Regions from separate parts of the Homo sapiens genome. Here region 2 is linked to region 1. The links are contacts of gene promoters, found by promoter capture Hi-C in human tissues and cell types (Jung and others, 2019). All regions are on one chromosome and are shown on one strand. Each heading gives the region's core, a stretch centred on a gene start or on the middle of the fragment in contact. The rest is flanking DNA. Distances are from core to core; before and after follow the strand shown. Region 1 holds the start of SNX27 (sorting nexin 27). Region 2 has its middle 5.0 kb from the start of TNFAIP8L2.

What was found. Contacts are between HindIII fragments. The study calls those that stand out against the background at their distance.
Region 2: a fragment that was not itself captured here is called in contact with the fragment with the promoter of SNX27 in region 1 in 1 of the 25 tissues and cell types used here (hippocampus).

Annotation. Positions count from the first base shown.
Region 1 is chr1:151,610,170-151,615,135 of GRCh38, reverse strand. It overlaps SNX27 (sorting nexin 27), which reads right to left and starts at 3,086. Exons shown (of 12, transcript NM_001330723.2): 1 at 2,624-3,086. The coding sequence starts at 2,934. LOC124904420 (a long non-coding RNA gene) reads left to right here and starts at 1,768. Exons shown (of 2, transcript XR_007066622.1): 1 at 1,768-1,945; 2 at 2,737-4,619. RefSeq lists a silencer at 2,731-3,170 and an enhancer at 3,211-3,310. The HindIII fragment of the contact is 9,196 bases long and covers 1-4,966 here.
Region 2 is chr1:151,149,032-151,154,263 of GRCh38, reverse strand. It overlaps a transcript of LYSMD1 not described here. Among named protein-coding and RNA genes, the nearest start is that of TNFAIP8L2, 5.0 kb to the left of the region's middle. The HindIII fragment of the contact is 4,054 bases long and covers 640-4,693 here.

The DNA.
Region 1 (4,966 bases), core at 1,837-4,336:
CCCACTAAAAGTGACAAAGTTCTCTACTTACCACAAAGGATGTGCCAAAAAGTAATGTTTTTTCTCTAGAAGGCAAAGATTTCCCAGCTTCCTAGTCTGGAACCTGAGCCTAAGGCAAGTCCTTCTACCTTTCCTAGGGGATTATCTGAGGTCTCCTTTACAGTTTATACCTAGGCTCTTGGGCAGAAGCCACAATAAAGGCAAGAAGCCACTAACTATGTATGTTGGGATGTGTGCGTGTATCTGCAAAGATAGATCATATTAACTATAGTCTCCTACAGAATTATTCTTTTTGGTTTAGTTCCTTTAGATCCTGTGAAGAGTAAATAATGTAGAACTTCATCATAAATTTATAATTATAAATGCTTTAGTTTTAAATTTAAAAATAAGAAGCTGAGTCCAAAATTAACTTCCAAAGGGAAAGGAAAGTGACAATTCTGAGACCTTCTATTGGAAGAAAACATCAGCCACAAATTTTGAGTTATCTAGAAAGAAAATAATTAGGTGCCCAAGTATAAGAAATCTGAAAGTCATTATTGTAATCCCAGCACTTTGGGAGGCCGAGGCGGGCGGATCACCTGAGGTCAGGAGTTTCAGACCAGCCTGGCCAACATGGTGAAACCCGTCTCTACTAAAAATACAAAATTAGCTGGTCATGATGACACATGCCTGTAATCCCAGCTACTCAGGAGGCTGAGGCAGGAGAATCGCTTGAACCCGGGAGGCGGAGGTTGCAGTGAGCCGAGATCGCGCCACTGCACTCCAGCCTGGGTGACGATCAAAACTCCATCTCAAGGAAAAAAAAAGAATATATTGTCAGACAATACTAGGAATACTAGGAAACAGTATGTAGGACATTAATGAAACAAGAAAGCATCTATTTACAGAAAGGACAGAGGAAAGGTATACTGTCTCCAAACACTGGCCTAGGTGAGCAACTATTTCTTTTTTTTTTTTTCAATCAACTCTCCCAGGTTAAAACCAACCATTTCTTGAGGTGGAAGAGGTGAGGAAACAGAATGAGTGGACACCATGGAGTTAAGAATGTCAAGGATAAGGGTAGATGGCACGAGATGAGTAAGAAGGAATGGATTTCTCTATAAGGCAGATTTTCAAAAAACTATCCCTTTTGCAAACCTACTGTTTTACAAGAGGCAACAGAAGGTTGCGGAAATTACAATTAAAATTTATAAAAAATGAGAACGATTTCAAGTGGGCAAATCGAAATATGGAGGGAGAGAGTAAAAGTGTAAAAAAGGAATGCACAACATAGATTCAGTAAGCAGAAACACAGCACTGAAGACTGCTGAGGAGAACGGAGACAACGCGAGCACACACCACCTGCAAGTCAACCGGCAATCACTATCCGAATTTCAATACGAAGTACAAAAAGGCAAATGTAACACCTAGATTAGGGTAATGGAGGCGGTGTGCACAGAGATTGCAAGACAAGGCAGCATCCCGCAAGAGCATGGAGGGATGTGGTGGGGGAGGCGTATGAAGGGGGAGGGACTGCAGCAGGGGAGAGAGGGTGGGCTGCAGCAGCAGAAGGCGCCTTAAAAAACAGAAGAAAGGAAAAGCAGCCTAGGGGAGGGAAAGACTAGGACAAAGTCAAGTGTGGGATCACAGGAGGATAGAGTAGAAGAGGCAGCAGAGACGGGCATGCCCTAAAAAAGCAAAGCGGTCAAAGACCCAAAAAGGGCTTGAAGTAGTTTTGAAGGAGGAGGAGTTACAAGGGGTCTACCATAAACCTGACTAGGAGGAGGCATGAGTATAGAGCAGGAGTGAAGGCAGGAGGCCAGGGAAGGGATGCTCTCAGAGGGGTGTGCTGATGGAGACGCTAGATTCCAAATTAGGGTGTGATACGGGGCCAACCGAGAAGAGAAACTACGGTGTCAAATCCCACGCCCCCCACCCCAAAGGCATGCAAGGGTCAGAAAGCAAGGTAAACTCTTGGAGTAGAAATACAAAAAGGAGGGGAGGAAAGGGGCACACGGTGGGATGGAAAAATTTAGGGGCAGCGTAACCATGAGGAGAGGGTAACTAAGGAAAGAAAAAGGAGACGAGCGGGGAGGGATGGTGTTTCCGGAGGAAAAGTAGGAGCAGACCAGAGGTCCTGCCTACTTGGTCTGGAGGGCAGAAGGGGCAGTCCACGGGGGCGGAGGGGAGTGGTGGAGAACGAAACTGCGATGCTGAAGATGAGAACTTGGGGGGGACACGGTACTGGCTGGATCAGAAAACGAAACGCCGTCAGTAAGGAGCAGATGAGGTTCCTTCTGAGCAAGACGAGGGGGAGTGAGGAGCAGAATGCAGCACGCCAAACGGGAAGGCAAAGGGGCGGAGAAGAGCCCAGAGTAATCGGGGCACAGGGAGGAGCACTGGGGGCGCAAGGGCATCAGCTGGAGACGACGGGGTGGGAGACCGGCGTCGCAGAAGCCCCGGGGCGGGTGGTGGGAGGGCAGCCCACAAGGAGGGGCCCGGCTGCGGAGGCCTGAGGGGCGGGGGTCCGGAGGCCGGCTCGGAGCTCGGGGGAGGTGCGGCCTGGGGGTGACAAGGGTAGCGAGGAGTGCAGGGGCAGGAGGGGCGCGGGGAGGATGGGGCGGCGGGTAGCCCCGATACTCACACCTCCAGGATGCGGTCCCCCTTGCGCACCCCGGCCCGATCGGCCGCCCCCCCGGGCAGCACGGCGCTCACATGCTGCAGCGGCGCGTACAGCTCCCCGTTGATGCTCCGCAGTTGCCCGCCCTCGCTCACTTGGCCCCGCACGTTGAAGCCGTAGCCGGACTCGGACTTGACGATGCGCACGACCCGCGGGCCGCCGCCTCCCCCGCCGCCGTTCCCGGCGCAGTGGAGCCCAGACCCCCCGCCGCCGCCGCCACCTCCGTTCCTGTGAGGGGCTGAGGGATGAATCCCTTCCCCGTCCTCGTCCGCCATCTTGCGAGCAGGCGAGCCGTACCCCCGCCCCCTACGCCTCCAAGGCCTCCCGGCGCGTGCTCGCCCTGCCTGGCAGCCGGACGACCCCCGACGCGCGCGCCCGATCCGCCGGCCGCGGGACCGACTCGGCCACCGAGCTGCTGGCGCGGGGTGAAGAGGAGGCAGGGGGCGGGCGAAAAGCGGACAATCGGGCACCGTGGGGCCTCCTGGGAGATGTAGTTTATGGGTGGCGGGGGCGGGGAGCGGTCTGGGCCTGGGCCTGAGCCGAGGTTATAAGACGCAGTTCGGAAGCAAGGCCTGCCGGGAGTTGTAGTTTATCTTTCATGCTGGGTTAGGAGTTTGATCTGCTGGGTGGGGAGAGTATAACCCAGCACCCAGCGTGGTAAAATGATTCAGTTCTTGATGCGGACCAAGTTTTTCGCCCCCCCCCCTTTCATTTCATAACCTCTAAAAAACAATAATGTTAGAATAACTTAACGTTTGTGATTCAACACAGTCTTAAATTATATCAACTCATTTTTTGGCACAGTAACTTATATGTTGACCAGGGCCCAACAACCTGTGAGGCAACCGGATCACGATTAGCTTCCCTATTTTACGTTATTAGGAAACAACCTTAGAGTGCTCAAAGTCATCCAGCTACTAAGTATCAGGAACTAAGGCCCAGTTATTGTGCAACTTTCTTGTCCTGTATTGCAACTACAGTCATGTGCCACATAAGGACATTTTGGTCTACAATGGACTGCAAACACGAGGGAGGCCCCCTAAGATGATAATGGAGCTGAAAAATGTCTATCACCTAGTGGCACAGTAGCCACCATAAGGTCATAGCACAAGCATTACTCACATGTTTGGAGTGATGCTGGTGTTAACAAACCTGCACTGCCAGTCATGTGAAAGTATAGCACATATGATTATGTACAGTACATAATACTTGATAATGGTAAGAACTATGTTACTAGTTTATGAATTCACTGTAGTTTTTATCACTATTTTAGAGTGTACTCCTTCTACTTTTTTTTTTAAGTTAACTGTAAAGCAGCCTCAGGCAGGTCCTTCAGAAGGTATTCTAGGTATTCTAAGTATTGTGATTTTTTTCCACGTATTCCAAGTATTGTGTTTTTTTGTTTTGTTTTGTTTTTTTGTTTTTTTTTTTTTTAAGATGGAGTTTCGCTCTTATCGCCCAGGCTGGAATGCAATGGCACGATATCGGCTCACCGCAACCTCTGCCTCCCAGGTTCAAGTGATTCTCCTGCCTCAGCCTCCCAAATCCCTTGCGATTAAACGCATGCGCCACCATGCCTGGCTAATTTTTTGGTATTTTTAGTAGAGACAGGGTTTCACCATGTTGGCCAAGCTGGTCTCGAACTCCTGACCTCAGGTGATCCAACCACCTCAGCCTCCCAAAGTGCTGGGATTACAGGTGTGAGCCACTGTGCCTGGCCCCAGTTATTGTTACCATCAGATGACAGCTCTGTGCATGTTATTACCCATGAAGACCTTCCAGTGAGACAAGAGATGGAGGTGGAAGACAGTGAAATTGATGATCCAGATCTGGTGTAGGCATAGGCTATGTTTGTGTTTAAGTCTTAGTTTTTAACCAAAAAAAAAAGTTTAAAACATAAAATTAAAAATTGCCTTAAATAGAAAAAAAGCTTATGGAATAAAGATATAAAGAAAGAAAATATTTTGTACATCTGTACAATGTGTTTGTGTTTTAAGCTAACTGTTATTACAAAAGAGTCCCCCCAAATTTTTAAAGGCTGGGTGTGGTGGCTCATGCCTGTAATACCAGCACTTTGGGAGACCGAGGTGGGAGGATTCCTTGAGCCCAGGAGTTCAAGACCAAACTGGGCAACATAGTGAGACCCCATCTCAACAAAAAATAAAAAATTAGCTGGTGGCTGAGCGAGACTATATCTAAAAAAAAAAAAAAAGCAGCTGGGCATGATGGCACATACCTGTAGTCCCAGCTACTTAGGAGGTTTAGGTGGGAGGATCGCTTCAGCCTAGGAGGTCAAGGCTGCAGAGA
Region 2 (5,232 bases), core at 1,417-3,916, 460 kb after region 1:
AGGCTATCTGCCCATCTTGGCCTCCCAAAGTGCTGGGATTACAGGCATGAGCCATAGCGCCCGTCTGTAATTTGTGATTTTATTAACTGTCTACCCACTAAGCTCAGATTATCTTTTAGTGTCTACACAGTGCTTGGCACATACTGTGGTCAATAAATATGTGCTGAAAGAATAAAGTCAAAACATATCCAAGAACCAGGATATGAGGGGAAAATGGTAGTAACATAGGAGTCACATGTTATAATGTTCATTTACTTCATTCATGGGGAAGTCTTTTATTTTCTCTCTCATTTTTTTTTTTTTCTTCAATTGAGACAGAGTCTCACTCTGTCGCCCAGGGTGGAGTGCAGTGGTGCAATCTCGGCTCACTGCAACCTCTGCCTCCCGGGTTCAACTGATTCTCTGCCTCAGCCTCCTGAGTAGCTGGGATTTCAAGCACCCACTGCCATGCCTGGCTAATTTTTGTATTTTTAGTAGAGACGGGGTTTCTACCATCTTGGCCAGGCTGGTCTTGAACTCCTGACATCGTGATCCACCCACCTCAGCCTCCCAAAGTGCTGGGATTACAGGCATGAGCCACCACACCTGGCCAAGAACAATTTTTTTTTCGAGATGGAGTCTCGCTCTGTCACCCAGGCTGGAGTGCAGCGGCGTGATCTCGGCTCACTGCAACCTCCACCTCCCGGATTCAAGCAATTCTCCTGCCTTAGCCTCCCGAGTAGCTGGGATTACAGGCATGTGCCACCATGCCCAGCTAATTTTTTTGTATTTTAAGTAGAGATGGGGTTTCACCATATTGGCCAGGCTGGTCTCGAACTCCTGACCTTGTGATCCACCCACCTCGACCTCCCAAAGTGCTGGGATTACAGGCGTGAGCCACTGCGCCTGGCCACAAATTTTTTTTAGAGATAGGGTCTTGCTATCTTGCCCAGGCTGGAGTACAGTGGCTCACACTGCTCACTGCAGCCTTGGACTCCTGGACTCAAACAGACCTCCTGCCTCAATCTCCCAAAGTGCTGAGATTACAGGAGTGAGTCACTGTGTACCCTGGCCAAATGACGGTATCTTAAATGTGCAAAACACTTTTGAATTTGCAAAATGTTTCACCTACAGGATCTTATTTGATCCTAAGAAGTAGGCAGGAAGGTAGTATGTCCACTTACAGAAGACAGAATCAGACTTAGAGATAAGTAGTTTATCCAAAGCCATACTCCAGAGATGAATCTAGCTAAGTCTCAATGACTTTCAATGGTGCTCTTTCCACTGTATAATCTACAGGAAGTGAATAGTACTTTTTTGAGCAATTTCTACTTTGAAGCAAAATGAAGATATTTTGCACTTAATTGGATAAACTTCAGTTATTTGGAAAAGTATTCAGGATGGAACAGTCCGATGTTTGTTTTAGGTGAGGTTTTACCATGGTTAAGATCAATACTCTCATATCAGTTCAGAAAGAGTAAGTTTAGTGTGATTTAAAGCAGTCAAGTAAGTCAGCCTGACATAGCTGGAGATAGTTCACAGCTTTTACTCTTTTTTTGTTTGGGGTATTTATTTATTTATTTATGAGATCGAGTCTCACACTGTCGCCCAGGCTGGAGTGCAGTGGCATGATCTCGGCTCACTGCAACCTCTGCCTCCTGGGTTCAAGTGATTCTCCTGCCTCAGCCTCCCAAGTAGCTGGGATTACAGGCGCGCACCCCCACGCCCGGCTAATTTTTGTATTTTTAGTAGAGACGGGGTTTCACTATGTTGGCCAGGCTGGTCTTGAACTCCTGACCTCATGATTCGCCCAGCTCGGCCTCCCGAAGTGCTGGGATTACAGGTGTGAACCACCGTGCCTGTCCTATTTTTATTTATTTACTTTTTTGAGATGGAGTCTCACTCTGTCGCCCAGGCTGGAGTGCAGTGGCACGATCTCGGCTCACTGCAACCTCTGCCTCCCAGGTTCAAGCTATTCTCCTGCCTCAGCCTCCTGAGTAGCTGGGATTACAGGCGCGCGCTACCACGCCCAGCTAATTTTTTGTATTTTTAATCGACACGGGGTTTCACCATGTTAGCCAGGATGGTCTCGATCTCCTGACCTCATGATTCGCCTGCCTTGGCCTCCCAAAATGCTGGGATTACAGAAATGAGCCACCATACCTGGCTTGTTTTTTTTTTGTTTTTGTTTTTTGTTGTTGTTGTTGTTTTTCCTCTGAGCCATAGGATGTTTGTTTGTTTTTAATCTTTGATGCATTTATTTCTTCCTCTACTTACTGTATGCCAGGCATTACAATTAAGTGCTGGGGATAAAAAGATAAAAGACAAGCTTCCTGTCTTTTTTTTTTTTTTTTTAAGATGGAGTTTCGCTCTTGTTGCTCAGGCCAGAGTGCAATGGCGCGATCTTGCCTCATGGCAACCTCCACCTCCCGGGTTCAAGTGATTCTCCTGCCTCAGCCTCCTGAGTAGCTGGGACTACAGGCGCCCGCCACCATGCCCGGCTAATTTTGTATTTTTAGTAGAGACGGGGTTTCTCTATGTCGGTCAGGCTGGTCTTGAACTCCCAACCTTAGGTGATCTGCCCACCTTAGCCTCCCAAAGTGCTGGGATTATAGGTGTGAGCCACTGCGCCTGGCTACTTCCTGTCTTTAGACTAAGTGGTAAACATGAAAAATCCAAATGGAAGTATCCAATAAGCAATTGTATACATGAGTCTAGAACTCAGGAGAAAGACCTGAGTTGAACACCTAGATTTTATGGTAAGCAACATATAAACAGTTTATTGTGGCCGGGCGCAGTGGCTCACACCTGTAATCCCAGCACTTTGGGAGGCCCAGGCGGGCGGATCATGAGGTCAGAAGATCGAGACCATCCTGGCTAACACGGTGAAACCCTGTGTCTACTGAAAATACAAAAAAAAAAAAAAAATTAGCTGGGCATGGTGGCAGGTGCCTGTAGTCCCAGCTACTCTGGAGGCTGAGGCAGGAGAATGGTGTGAACCCGGGAGGCGGAACTTGCAGTGAGCCGAGTGAGCCACTGCACTCTAGCCTAGGTGACAGAGGGAGACTCATCTCAAAACAAAACAAAACAAAACAGTTTATTGTAACTGTTGGTTTTGTAACTGTTCTCATTGTCGGATTATCTTGACCAATGAGAATGGGTAGAGAAGAAAGAGGTGGCTAAGGACATGACCATAGGGAACACCAGCATTTAGAGAGGTCAGAGAAGGCTAAGAAAGGTCATATTAGGCTGGGTGTGGTGGCTCACACCTGTAATCCCAACACTTTGGAGGCTGAGGTGGGCAGATCGCTTGAGGTCAGGAGTTCGAGACCAGCCTGGCCAACATGGCGAAACCCTGTCTCTACTAAAAATATAAAAATTAGCTGGGCGTGGTGGTGGGCGCCTGTAATCCCAGCTACTCGGGAGGCTGAGATGGAGAAGCGCTTGAACCCAGGAGGTGGAGGTTGCAGTGAGTGAGCCAAGATTATGCTACTGCACTCCAGCCTGGGGCGACAGAGTGAGTCTCTGTCTCAAAAAAAAAAAAAAAAGAAAAGAAAAGAAAAGAAAAGCCATATTAATAGAAGTGAAACTATCCATTCATTAAAAATACATATTTATTAAGCCCCTAGTCTTTGTTAAGAGAAAGAGGGACCTCAGGAGCCAAAAGAAGAAAGCATTTCAAGGAGGGGGGAGTCAACAGGTCAAATGGCACAGAGAGGGCAAAAGGATAAAGACTGAAGAGTTGTTCATTGAATGTGACCAGGAGGTCGTTGGTGGCCTTAATGAGAGCAATCTCAGTGGACTGATGGGGACAAAAACTAAAATGATTGAGAATGAGAATCATGAAAATGGATATAGCAAGTATAGGTAACTCTAGAAGCTTAGTTATGAAGGGAAGAGAAATCGAGTGATGACTGGGTGCAGACAAGGATCAAGAGAAAGTTTGGAATGTTTTCCTTTTAATCATGGGAATTACTTGAGCATGTGTATATGCTAAGGGGAAAATATCAGTAGAAAAGGACAGGTTAAGACTGGGAATGGTGGCTGACGCCGGTAATCCCAGCAGTTCGAGAGGCCGAGGCAGGAGAATCACTTGAGCCTAGGAGTTCAAGACCAGCCTGGGCAACACAATGAGACTCTGCCTCTATTTTTTTTTTAAGTTAATACTTTCTGTGTGCAGGCACTATGCTACAAGGAAAGGATACAGTGTTGAGCAAGATAGACAACCAGGGACTGCATACAACTTACAGTAAAGTCATAGGTGAACCTTCGACAGGTGATACGGATGGCATTCACTAGGATGAGAGAGACATGATGCAGGTAAGTATATCTGTAGGGAGCAAAAAGTTGGTGGAATTCTCACTTTATTATCTCTGTTTTCTCTGAAGACGGATGAGGGTTTTCCTGAGATGAACAAGGAAATGGTAAGGAAAGGAACTTGCAAAAAAAGGAGGAAGTTTGAAATATCTCCCTGGGGATTGGAAGAGAGTGCTTTTCCAATCCAATCTGTGGGACTGTGTGATTTCCTTTTTTTGAGATGGAGTCTCGCTCTGTTGCCCAGGCTGGAGTGCAGTGGTGCGATCTCGGCTCACTGCAAGCTCCGCCTCCTGGGTTCAAGCAATTCTCCTGCCTCAGCCTCCCCAGTAGTTGGGACTACAGGCGCACACCGCCACGCCCGGCTAATTCTTTTTATTTTAGTAGAGACGGGGTTTCACTGTTGTTGCCCAGGCTGGTCTCGAACTCCTGAGCTCAGGCAATCCACCCGCCTCAGCCTCCCAAAGTGCTAGGATTACAGGCCTGAGTCACTGCGCCCGGCCAGGACTGTGTGATTTTCTTCAAAACACTAAGGGAGTAGGAAGAGAGGTTTTTTATTTTTATTTTTATTTTTTTAAGAGTCTCCCTCTGTGTCACCCAGGCTGGAGTGCAGTGGCACGATCTTGGCTCACTGCAATCTCCTGTCACCTGAGTTCAAGCAATTCCCCTGCCTCAGCCTCCTGAGTAGCTGGGATTGCAGGTGCCCATCACCACACCCGGCTAATTTTTTTTTGTATTTTTAGCAGAGCTGGAGTTTCTCCATGTTGGCCAGGCTGGTCTCAGAACTCCTGACCTCAGGTGATCTGCCCACTTCGGCCTCCCAAAGTGCTGGGATTACAGGGGTGAGCCACCTCGCCCAGCCAAGAGAGTCATTTTGATTTGTCCTTCAAAATAGCTCTCAGATTCATGTATTTCTTTCTAAATCTGTTCCCATCACCC